Regions from separate parts of the Homo sapiens genome. Here region 1 is linked to region 2. Evidence: promoter capture Hi-C in 16 types of primary human blood cells and fetal thymus (Javierre and others, 2016). All regions are on one chromosome and are shown on one strand. Each heading gives the region's core, a stretch centred on a gene start or on the middle of the fragment in contact. The rest is flanking DNA. Distances are from core to core; before and after follow the strand shown. Region 1 overlaps COPG1 (coat protein complex I subunit gamma 1). Region 2 holds the start of EFCC1 (EF-hand and coiled-coil domain containing 1).

Region 1 (6,480 bases), core at 957-3,456, 270 kb before region 2:
TTGCACGTTGACTGAATCTGAGAGCACAAATGAAGGGGACAGCCCCACCACGAGAAAACCACAGGGCAGGTGTCTGCAAGACCCAGGGGACTAGGTTGTTTCAATGTGGCTACAAACTGTCAGCTGTAGGCAGGGTACTGAAGCAGAGCCTCCTTTCAACCCTGTTTATAAACACTCAGCCAAAAAAAATCATCCCATTTCCTTTTGTTAACTGTTTTAGGTATGATAATTGTATTGTCCTTTAAAAAAGGGAAGGGGTCATTCTCTCTTAGAGAAACATACAGATACAGGATTTACATATAAAATGCTATTTCTGGAGTTTGCTAGTAAATAATCTGGGAAGGAGAATGAGTGTGGGTACACTCAGCCAACCCTGTAGAAAATAAGACAAAGGATATGAAGACAATGATCAGAAAAGGAAATACAAATGCCTCAACATTTAAGAAGATACTTAACTTCATTGAAAATACAAAAACTACACTAAGATATCATTGTCCACACAGACTGGAAAAGATCATAAAGTGTGGTAACATATTATGTTGTCCACAGTGTAGGAAGAAAGGTATACAATTCTATGGAAGGCAACTTGGAGTTATTTATCAAGATGAGAAACACAAATCACTTTGAACTGGTGATGCCTTGGAAAATTTATCCTACAGATATTCTCAGTGTACACATGCAAAGTAAACTGTGTGTGTGTGTGTGTGTGTGTGTGTACACGATTATTTACTGTAACATCTGTAATAGCAAGAGATTGAAATCAAACTAAATGTTCATCAGTAGTGGCTGTTCCATAGAATATGTGGTGCATCCACACAATGGAATACTAAGCAACTATAAAAAAAATGAGGATTCAGTTTGGGATGAAAAAAGTTCTGGAGATGGATGGTGGTCATAGTTTTACAATAGTGTGAATGTACTTAATGCCGCTGAACCATACACTTGAAAATGGTCGAAATGGTGAATTTTATGTATATTTTACCACAATTAAAAGAAAAAGAATGAGGAAGCTCTACATATTGACGGGGAAGATCTCTAAGATGCAATGTAAAGTGAAAAGCAAATCGGAGGACAATATATATACCATTTGTACATAAACATTTGAGTTAAAAAAAGGAAATGCGTTCCTATTAGCTTTTATAGCCATAAAATAACCGCAAGGTTATACAAGTATTGTTTGTAATAGTAACACTGGTCGCTTCTCGGAAGGGAATCTGAATGGCTGGCAGCCAAGGTAGGGAGGAAACATTTCGCTGCAGATTATTTTATACTTTGTGAATTTTAAATGCTGTGAATTTTGACTCCCCATATTTACAGTGGAGTCCTTAGCCCAGGATCCAGTGGCATCCAGGCTGTAAGCTATCCAGGCCCTCCCCATCTAGAAATGCCACTTACCAGCCAGGAGCAACGTGTGGGTGTTCTTGTTATCCGGCACTTTGTCTGACCTCTCACAAGGGTGCATTCCCAAGAACTTCACAATATTACCCACAGCCTCTGTAATGAGAAATCCCAATATTGTTAAGCCATCTTATCTGCCCTTTGTGCCACCACCACTCCCCCATGTTCTGAAGGGCTTTTAATGAAGTGGCATTTGACATATGTGCTCCAGACATGGCCCTGGATCCTTGGAGAGAAAAGGGATGAGCACTTCAATAGTAGCCAAAGATCTTGAACAGTAATTAGGCCAGAGATGGCATTCCCAGGATTTTACCTTCAAGTGTCTTGATGGTAGACAAGGTGAACGTTTCCTCCTTCTCAAATTCATCCCCTACCTCATCCCAGGCTGCTTCGAAGTTCAGTTTCATGACCTTTTGAATGTGATCAGCTACAGTAACTTCCAGATCTTCCAGCTGGAGAGATGGAGGTAGAAATCAGGCACCCATCTACACACCTACGGGCCTCTGCTCTGAACTCATCCACACATCCCTTCCTGCAACTCTTTCCACAGGTGCTTGCTCGGCACTGAGGACTGTGCTAGACTCTGGGGACATAGAGCAACTTGACCAGGTACCTATCCTTGAGGTGCCCAAAGGCAAATGGTATCCCTTCAACAGAAAACGCCCTAATCCCAAGTACCAATCTACTAATTCAGCCTAGAGCCGCCTGCTGTGAGATCACATCTCTTCTAAGCCTGCCTAGTGTCAGTGCTTCCAGGACCTGGCATGCAGGGAATTACATAGCATTCTCAGAGGTCTGCTTCCTATGCCTGTCCCTCCTAGGGGATGATGAGCTCTTCAGGACCAGCAGCTGTTTCTAGTTCAGCAGAAACTAGCAGAAACCTCCTACCCCAGCTGTGTCCTCTGGATTTGACAGATCCTGAATCTCTATCTCCATTTCAGCTGTGTCTTCCCTGAACTTGACACATAATACTCCCACTGAGTCTACATGAAGGTTCCCCATTCATTCTCCCATCAGATTTTCACTGAGGCCCTACTCCTGTGGATGTTTACAGTGTATATAAATACAACTTAGACCCAGCTCTCTCTCTCTTTTTTTTTTTTCTTCATCTCTGGATGGGCTCAAACAGACCCAGCTCTCTCAAGGAGCTCACTTGGTCTTAGAGCAGCTCCTGCCTCGGGGTCATTTCCAGCTCAAGGAAGGTCCATCCATCCTCAACTGTGACTCTAGGATGACACAATGGCGAATGTCAGTTGTATTCCACTGTGACTGTCCCTCTAGTCAGGAGGAGTTCTAACAGTCCCCATCCACAGGCTGAGCATAATGGTCTGCACTCAGATGGCCCTGAGCCACTGCCCCAAAGTCAGACCTCAGAAGGATCCTGTACTTAGTTCCACCGAGCTAAGATAGGAGAATTTAGAAGGGCTATTCCAGTGCATGAAAGGACTGCCCAGCACAGCAAACAGGTCAAATTTATCCAGAAAGCATTTGACAAGAGGAATCAAAATGTCTTAAAATCATGCTTACCCTTTGACCCAACTATTCTCCTTCTAGGAATCTATCCTAAAGAAATAATCTAAAATGCAGATAAAAATTTGTATCTAAAGGGATATTTAATGCAGCAATATAAATAGTGAAAATATGGAAACCCAAATGCCCAACATTAAAGGAGTGAAAAGTCAATCAAGTTTTGACATAGTATATAACAGTATTTTAAATCCACTAAAAAAATTGTGTTTATGAAGTATTTGTAATGATACTGGAAAATACACTATGGTTTTAAAATAGCAAGGTCTACACTGTAAGAATGATTTCAATTATACCACTTCCCCCCAAAAATAACTCTAAGGATTATGAGTAATGTTTTCCTGTTGTTCATACTTTGTTTTGAATTTTGTTTTTGTATTTCCCAAGTTTTCTTTTTACACATGAACATGTATTTCCATAAGTTTAAAAAGTTATTTTAGGCCGGGCGCGGTGGCTCACGCCTGTAATCCCAACACTTTGGGAGGCCAAGGTAGGTGGATCACCTGAGGTGAGGAGATCGCGACCAGCCTAGCCAACATGGTGAAACCCTATCTCTACCAAAAATACAAAAAATTTGGCAGGCATGGTGGTGGGCGCCTGTAATCCCAGCTACTTGGGAGGCTGAGGCAAGAGAATCGCTTGGACCAGGGAGACAGAGGTTGCAGTGAGCCGAGATCGCGCCACTGCACTCCAGCCTGGGTAACAAAAGAGAAACTTCATCTCAAAAAATAAAAATAAAAAAATAAAATTTTAAAGAGCTAAAAAGCCAAAAACAGCTCCAGTCTCACTGTCAGTTCCTGAAGGGAGTTGCTTTGCAGCCTCAGCACAAAACTGAGCTTCCTGACACCAGGATCTTACCACATACTCATCCTCATAGCCTTCGTCATCAGTCTCCCCAGTGGTGGGATCACAGTCCTTGACAGTGAACTTCATCATGCAGCTGAATGTGCAGGCCACTGTGGGGAAGAGAGGCTGGGTAGTTAGGATGTCCCCAGCCTGCAGGGGATGGGCTCCTCCTGCAGGGGACAAGCAGGCAGGGGTCACAGCCTGCTTTCTAGGCCCCTGCTATGTTATTAGTAGCAGCAACAAGCCATCCAATCCCACAAAGCTGGACAGAGGGTGCCACCTTGTAGGACAGGAAAGTCATGAGTTCTAGTGAGATCCTGTCTCTTTAAAAAAAAAAATTTTTAAAGAAGAGCACTTGGGACTCAGCTATTCTTCTTCTTGGGACTGAAATCAAGGAGCTGAAGCTCTAATAGAAGGCAAACAGCTGGTGCCCAGCCGCCCACCTCCTCCTGACCCCATGAGCTCCCAGGAGGATAGGGTGGTATCTGGAGAGGGGCTCACCAGCTGTGGGGTCTTCTTTGGGCAGTGCCACCAGTGTGTAGCAGGTCCCGGGCTGGTTGTAGGGCAGGCTCCGGGCAGGCACGTAACAGAGCACCTCATAGGCCTCAGTGGGCTCCATCTGCACTGTGACATTCTCCAAGGTCTGGTCATTGAGTGTGTTTGTGCAGTCAAACTGAACAGGAAAGAGAGGGGAGCTTAAACATTGCACTAGGTCCGAGCCATGCTGCAGAGGAAAAGCCAGGAGGTCCCACCTCTTTCCTATTGACCAAGGTGATTCCCATCCCAGTCCCCCTGCCCCAGGTTCCCTGTCTTCATGCTGACAATCGGGAGCCATGGATGTCCCGAGTCAAGAGATATGAGAGACCGACCTGTTGGGGACAGATTCTGTCATCAAGTTGGGCTCCCAACCAATGCAGTGTGGGGACCCATGACCCTACAGGACCTGCCAGACCTGGGACAACTCCCTGGGCGCATGCCCCAGCAGGGCCTCAGCCCACCTTGCTCACCTGAAAAACCATGTGGTTGGTGAAGGTGTGTTTGGTGCAGCGGATGACATACTCCGTCTCTGACTCGGTGAGGGCCACGGGCTCAGGCGAGGACTTGAAGAGGGGCCCAAGACCGCGGAACTCTGGCACTGCTGCCAACTGCTCTGAAATCCACAGGCCACATTCACTCAGCTTCTCGATCCCCAGACCAACTTGTTGATGGTTTCTAATAAATTCCCATGACCATTCTCAAGGTGTTCCACCCTACCTTAGATGGATAGATATGTTTACCCAACTGGCTACTCATTATTTCCTGAATATATCCATGCATTTTCTCATCTCCCTGACTTCGCTCATGTGGCACAACCCCCCACAAATACTCTCCCCATCTCTGTACCATGAAAGACCTCAGAAGCAAAAAACTGATATGAGACCACAAAATCCTAGACCTAATTGGAGAATCCCCCAGCTATAGAAGCTTAGCAAGGATTTCCGCCCCCTACCGCAGCAAGGATTCTTAAAAGAAGGTGACAATTAGGAAAATAAGATCGATACTGCTATAGCTACAAAATCAGACAAAATAACAAACTGGTCCTATATATTTATCAGTTAAGACAAATGGCCAATAAAGAGATATTTCAGAATGAGAGTGTTGCAGAAAACCTAACTTAGAATTGTTTGTGTCTGGTAAGACCTATCCCTACACCCTATGCCCAGGTTCAAGCACTGGATTCAAGCACAGGCCCATGGGACCCCACCCTGGCTGGTCCTGGCATTCCTTGCAAACTAAAGGGAATAACCCAAGTGAATGAGGCATCTGGCAGATGTGTGCACATGGTGTCCACCTATAATGGCTACAGCTGCCACTCTTGTACCTATTCTATGGCAGGATTCCTCGCACTATGACCATGGATCAACTGTATCAGAATTACTAGGGGTTGGCGGCAGAGCTTGCTAAAAACTCAGACTCCATCCCAAATCTACTACATCAGAATCTCTGGTTTCAGGATCAAGGAATTTGCATTTCTAACATGTTTCCTCAGATTATTCCAATATATACTGATATTTAAAGACCACTGCTCTAAGATTTTCAACTTGTCTTCCCAATTAATTGAACTCCATGAGAACAGGGATTGTGCTTTGAGGCCATGGATCTGATATTTTTCCCTTTACTTAGAAGGTACTCAATTCACGTTTCAGACATAGAGAAAGGTAGGCCTTATTTTTATTATTTTGCTTTTTTCCTCCACAAAAAGTCAGCCTATGTGACCACTTCAGCCCTCTGCAGCCTGAAGACTGAATCTAATGAATATGCAGGCAATAAAAAGCCCAGAACAATCCAGGCTAGATATTAGGAGGAACTTTTGGGCCACCATGACCATCAACCACTAGAGTGCTTTTCTATTGATATTTATTTTCTTGGGACTCAGAGTTTTGGGCCTGATACTTACTCCCTGGGGGATTCTGTTGGTAGGGTTTCAGACTCTTCATCAATAAAACTGATATCATTATCTTGATCACAGCGTTGTTGTAAAGACAAATGAGGCAATAAATTCAAGATCTAGGAAAGTTCTTGGAACTGAACATGTATGTGATTAGTAAATGTGAGGCTTTTGGATGATTGTTTAAAAATGGAATTGTTACCCTTTAAGCGGCTTAGGAGACTTCCTTGGAAGGTGTGGCAGAATAATGACTCCAAGATGCCCACATGCTAATTCCCAGA
Region 2 (6,345 bases), core at 1,130-3,629:
CGTTTCTTGCGCCGTCTGCTTCCGGGTGCCAGGCCCTTAGGTCCGGTGCGTCCAAGCTCCTTTAACCCTCGCCACATCCCCAGGGAGGCCCAAGCTCTGATTCCTCCTCATCCCCCACCCCCCAACGTTTTTTCACTGAAGGAAACTGAGACACGACGCCTGTATTCTGTTCCCTCTATAGTACCAACCTCGCGACTCTTCTCGGCCTACTGTATTGGCGGCGTTCAGCCTGCCGGGTGGCGGTTCCTCATCTCCTAGACTCCCCCCAGTGGCATTTCCAGCCCTCCCCGTGCCTGCTCACTAGAGGCTTTTGAGGGTGGTTTCTATCTGTCTTTACTGGTGTGTTCCCAGAGCCTAAAACAAACCTGGCACATAGTAGGTGCTCAATAAATACCAAGCATGAGAGATGCCGGAAGACCGTTCAGGCGCATCCCATGGCTCCCAGTACGTTACTTGGGATTCCACATCAGAGGAGTAGTTTCCCGCCTCCACCCTGGCTTCCATGCACACTGACACTGAAAACCACACCTTGCCACTTCCCTGCACTCTGCAGTGTCCTGAGCTAAGGCGGGGTCATATAATGTCAGTTTCTTCCTGGCCTGTTGTCGCCTGGGGTAGGGGCTGTTCCTTTCCTCCTCTGACCCCTGCGGCCCAGCACTGCCCTTGGTGCTCGGCTGGCACAGTGCTTAAGTGTTTGTCGACGGCTCCCAGATGCTAAGGCTGGGTCCCTATCTCACCCCATGGTTTCTTCTCAATAGCCCAGAGCGGGTCTGGTTCCCGCAGGCACTTGGTGGCCCGTGAGTGCCTGATCCACAGTGTGAGCCACATTGTCTGTTTCTCACTTGTCTCTGTTTCTCCCACAGGGAGCCCCATAAGTCTTTGCTGATTGACAGAAGGAGCTGTCAGTCTACCCCAGGAGGCAGGGATATCCCTAAAGGTGAGGACAGGGCCTTCTTCACACTTCTGTCTCCTAAACCTCCCAGAAGCCTGGCAGGAAGGAGAGAGAAAGATGCTTGTTGAAAGGGAATATGTGAGACTACCCAGACAGGTGCAATTCCTAGGTTAAAGGGGCAAGACGCGATGATGTGGCGGTGGAGCAGAAAAGTGGGGTATGGTTGTTTGAGTGTGATTGGGGTTTTCAGGAATGGAATAGGTGGTAAGAATAGGGTTGGGGACTGGAGTGGAATGGGGAGGAACAGGGGCAAGATGCAAGTGTGCTGATGCGGAGTGGGATGGTGTGGGGCTGCCCTCTGTCTCCCCTTCCTCTGACTCTGTCCTGTCGGGCTCCGCAGCCAGCCAGCTTTTAGTTCGAGCCCTCTCCCGGGCGTTACCACCCTCCCTTCGTGGCCGGCGCGCACCTGCAGTGCTAGGCAGCGCGCATCACTGCTCTGCAGCGCGGCGCGCAGGTCCTCCACCAACTCGCGCAAGCTGCTATTCTCCTCCTCCAGCCGCGCAACGCGCTCACAGTCAGGACCGCTGTCGGGGCCAGGCGCGCAGGGCGGGCGGCGGCGGCGGCGCGGACGGCGCAGGCGGATCTGCGTCTCGATGTGCTCGCTGAGAGCGCCGCGGGGCAGCCGGGGCCCCGCACGGGTGCCGAAGTAGCCACAGAGGCGCGCGTGGAACTGGCGGAAGGTGAGCTCCGGCGGCTCGGCGCGCAGCGCCAGGCGCGCCTCTTCATCGGTATCTGAGTCCCCGTCCGTGGCCAACTCAGCGGCCGCATCCCCGGGGGTCACATCTCTGGAGTTCCCGTCACCTGCTGCCTGCCCGGCCGTGGTGGCCCCCTCCGCGCGCAGCCCCAGCACAGCGCAGAGCGCTCGGAAGTCGGCGCGGGGCAGACGGCCGGCGCCGCGGCAGTCCAGGTGGTGGAAGACCTCCTGCAGGTACTGGTCCAGGCCGGTGGCCAGCACCACGATCTCGTTCTCCACGCCGCGGTCCAGCCCGTAGTGGTGCGCCAGGGCGCTCAGCAGCCACTGCGTGCGCCGCGCAGGTCGCCGGTACGGGTCACCTCCCGCGCCCTCCATGCCGGCCTCCGCGCCCGTGCTGACCGGCTCCATCGCTGCGCCGCGCGCCTCGCTCCTCCGGTCCCTCCTCCGGTCCCTTCGCCCCGCCACTTCCAGGGGCGGCCCCAGAGTTTCTCGAAAGGAGGGGCTTAGCGGTCGCGGTCTGGTTGGAGCGGCGCCGGGGACCGTGTCCAGCAGCTGCGCTGGCCTCACAGTGCGTCTGGTTTACCCCAGTTGCTTTGGAGGGGCCTGGGGTAGGGGGTCCAGGAACCCCCGGGACCCCGGCAGCGCCACCAGTGCCCGGTCGGCGTCTGGGTCTGGCTTCTCCGCGTGACTCCCACGCTCTCCTCTCCTCACTCACGGGGCGTTCCTGGCGTCTGCGCTTTTCCTCCCACTCCCGGCCGTCCACTCTCAACTCCCTCCTCCCTCCGCCCCGCCCGCCTGGCGCGGAGAGTTCGCTCCGAGACCTGGGCGAGGGGTTGGCGCGGGATCCGAAGCCCAGGAGGGCCTTGGGGGTGGCGGCCTCGTCCGGTTGCTGGGGATGTGCCCCCACACCCAAGCGTCACTCTTCCCCCTCTTCCCGGAAGGCCTTTCGAGGGTTGCCTGGCAAGCCTGCTCTCGCCGCCCTGTAGCCGTAGGTGCGGAAAAGCCTCCCCTCCGCTTCAATTCAGCTACTGGGTTTCCGAACCCACTTCTTGTGCCACCATAGACCGTGCAAAGAGCCCCAAGTAGTAACTGGGAAAGAGAGGGAAACAGGCTTGGAGAGGCAAGGGGTCTAGGTTAGGGGCACCCCGCTGGTGAGAAGCCCATCTGAGACGAGCCCTGTGCTAACTGCTCTCTCCCGATCCCTGTTGGGGGTGGGGATAGGACTCTCGGGAAAGTGGTGTCTCCCGGCCCTGCCACCTTTGTGCCTGCCGGTGCTGACTTGGCAATGGGATCCGAGTTCCATCTCTTGAGCTGGGGTTAGGTTAACAGGTCGATGATTGGCTGATGTTTTTTTCTGGTGTTTTAGAACACATTTCTGGAAGATGAAGAAAAACCTGCTTCTCTGGTGAGTGCTAGACTGTGTTCCCTTTCTTTTTCACGAGAGGGGTGCAGTGATATTGTGATATTGTCCACCTGTTACCTGCACCGGGAACGGTTATCCAGCCACGGTACCCAGCCATGTTGGAGCAAGAGGCAGACTCTTCAGCTGTTCCTAGCTATGACAGAGACAGAATCTTGCCTTGTGGATAACTCTGTGAGTTTAAATGTAAAATCTTGCCGTTTGAAAAGCGATAGCATTCTGTCTCCTCTGCCACAGTATCCCAGAATCAGCACGTTGTCCATTTGGCAAATTCGTACTTGTTCTTGAAGGCTTTGCCCAGAGTACATATCTGCTGGGAAGGAGTTAGAGGCTTCTCCCCAAGCATTTTGGACATATTCTTTTAGGTTTGTTTTTAATTATAAAAGTAATGGCAATTTGACAAAGTTTTTACATCACGTCCACTTCTTGGCTTCTACCTTCGAAAGCCACTGTGCACAGGATGTTCACTGCATCATTGTTTATTACAGTGAGAAACTGGAGACAACCTGGTGTCCATCAAATCAGCTAGGACTCAGCAAACGAGGATGAGCGGACACAGCAAGCCACAAGCTGATTATGCACAACACTGATGCTTACATAACAAGAACAAAAACACACAAAACAATACTAAGTATTTTCTACTAGGACATGTGTATGTGAGTGCACAGAAGAAGATGGAGGGATTCATAAGTGGATTCAGTGGTTCTTTCTGCAGATGGGAGACACTGCAGTATTTCCCTTTTGTTAAGATGTTCTCATGTGTTTCTTTTTCTTGGCCGGTCGCGGTGGCTCACGCCTGTAATCCCACCACTTTGGGAGGCCGAGGCGGGTGGATTGCCTGAGGTCAAGAGTTCGAGAACAGCCTGGACAACATAGTGAACCACCCCCATCTCTACTAAAAATACCAAAAGTTAGCTGGGCGTGGTGGCAGGCGCCTGTAATCCCAGTTACTTGGGAGGCTGAGGCAGATGAATCGCTTGAACCTGGGAGGCGGAGGTTGCAGTAAGCTGAGATCCTGCCATTGCACTCCAGCCTGGGCGACAGAGCGAGACTCCGTCTCAAAAAAAAAAAAAAAAAAAAAAAAAGAACCTGATTTTATTTCATGTCAGCCCTAAGAGCTGGTAGCCCAGGCAAGAGTGCAACACCCTCCCCACCCCCCATCCCTGCAGCTGGTGAAGGAATCCTTTGAACAGTAGCTTTCCTGGGCCAGTCAATATTGAAAAGAAAGCTTTTAAATGTCTTGCTGGGAGCCGTTGCCGGCCTCCACTCCCCTACAGCTCAGGGAAGTAAGGGTTGATAATGGTTTGCTGTCAGGCCTGTCTGTCTGCCCTGCGGTGTTACCAGGCACCTCTGAAATAATTCTGGTTGCATCCACAAGGTTTTTGTTTAAGGTTCAAAGTGAGCAAACTCAGAGGTCTCCTTGCGTTCTTTTGTATGAGCTGGGGGGATGGGCGTGTGTCTGTGTGGGAGAGAGTCAGGGCTGTGGCAAAGAAATGATTTTCTGAAGTCAGTTCAGTATTGTTTGAGCCATTTCAAATAGTATATTGTTTAAAGTGTCTTTTAAAGGTCCGGGAAAATGCTAAAAAGCAAAAATCATCCACCATTCTGCCACCAAGAGAGGATCACTGTGTATTTCTGATGTATTTATTTCCAGACTTTTCTATGTATTTGGGCATGAAAGAACTTTTTGGAGTGATTGAAATACTCTATCTTCATGGTGTAGTGGTTGCATGACTGTGTACATCTGAATTTTACAGTGTGCAAATCGTAGCTCATTCAACTTGACATGAAAAGCACAGTGGAAAGGGCGCCATTGGGATCTTTCTTTGCACAGGAACTGAGCTTTGTAAACAGCTTGGCTGTGGTTTCTTTGCAGACACTGCTCCAGAGGCTGCTCTGTGCTCCCTGGGGATGAACTATAAGGTGCTTTGTCATCCCCCACAGATGCCCACTGAGGTGGTTTTCAGCTTTTCTCCGCAAAAACCATACTGTGAACAGTTTGTGCCATATCTTGAGTGATTTATTACTGGGCCAAGGAGTATACATATTTTATAAGCTTGTGGTATTATCAGCCTGTTTTTTGGAAACTTGTGTTGTTCTATCCAGAGCCCAGAACTGTCTGGGAATGTCCTTGGGCCATTATTTTCAGTGTCATAAAGCTTTTGGGTTTTTAGGGGTCTTGGTTAGTAGATTTGCTTAGTGTTCAGACACCAAGCTTTACTTCTATTAAAAATAGGCCTGTTGTTAGTCAAAGATTTCTTAGATACGACACCAAATGCATGATCCAAAAAAGAAAAAAATGATGAATCGGACCTTCATCAAAGTTCAAAACATTTGCACTTCAAAAGACACTATTAAGAAAATATGACGAACAAGAGACTAGGAGAAAATATTTGTAAAACATATGCCCAGTAAAGGACTTATATTCCGAATTTACAATGAACTCTTAACAACTCAGTAACAAGAAGACAAACAATCCAATCAAAAAGTGGGTGAAGATACAAACAGACATTTCACCAAAGAAGTTGTATAAATAGCCAACATGTGCATAAAACAATCTCAGTATTCTTGTTAGGGAAATGCACATGAAAACTATGATGAAATACTATATTATACTCATGAGAATAGCTGTAGTGAATAAAACAGGCAATAAATCTTGTCAAGAATTTGGAGAAACAGGAAACTTCATGTTGTTGATGGGAACACAAAATGATGCAGCCCCTGTGGAAGATAGTTTGGCAGTTTCTCAAGAAGTTAATCACAAAATGACCATACGACCCAACTCTTCCACTCCTAGATATCGACCCAAGAGAGATGAAAACACATCCACACAAAGACTTGTGTGGGAATGTTCATAGCAACGTTGTTCATAAATGTCTAAATGCCCAAGCCAAATGCCCATTAACTGATGAATGGATAGGCAAACTGTGGTCTGTCCATACAATAGAATATTATTCAGTCATGAAAAGGAATGAAATACTGACACATGCCTCAACATAAATAAACCTTGGAAACATAACGGTAGGTGAAAGAAACCAGTCACAAAGCCAGAACACAGTGTCTGACTCAATTTATAGGAAATGTCTAGAAAAGGCCAATTTTTAGAAACAAAGTAGATATGGTTGCCTAGGACTGGGAGTTGGAACAGAGATTAATTATAAATGTGCATGAAGTCTTATTAGGGGGATGAAAATGTTCTAAAATGAATTTATGATGATGATTACAGCACTAGGTAAAGTTACTGAAAATCATTGAATTCTACGCTTGAAATGGATGGAT

The links. Contacts are between HindIII fragments. The CHiCAGO score rates a contact against its expected background, and 5 or more counts as called.
Region 1: a fragment that was not itself captured here is called in contact with the fragment with the promoter of EFCC1 in region 2 in 1 of 17 cell types (total B cells); the score reaches 7.6 in total B cells.

What each region holds. Positions count from the first base shown.
Region 1 is chr3:129,270,208-129,276,687 of GRCh38, reverse strand. It overlaps COPG1 (coat protein complex I subunit gamma 1), which reads right to left. Exons shown (of 24, transcript NM_016128.4): 19 at 4,779-4,921; 20 at 4,273-4,444; 21 at 3,784-3,881; 22 at 1,712-1,850; 23 at 1,396-1,494. It overlaps MIR6826 (microRNA 6826), which reads right to left and starts at 4,542; the gene lies at 4,445-4,542. The HindIII fragment of the contact is 6,063 bases long and covers 1-5,237 here.
Region 2 is chr3:128,997,338-129,003,682 of GRCh38, reverse strand. It overlaps EFCC1 (EF-hand and coiled-coil domain containing 1), which reads right to left and starts at 2,379. Exons shown (of 8, transcript NM_001377500.1): 1 at 1,359-2,379. The coding sequence starts at 2,054. It also overlaps a transcript of CFAP92 not described here. The HindIII fragment of the contact is 12,645 bases long and covers 1-4,296 here.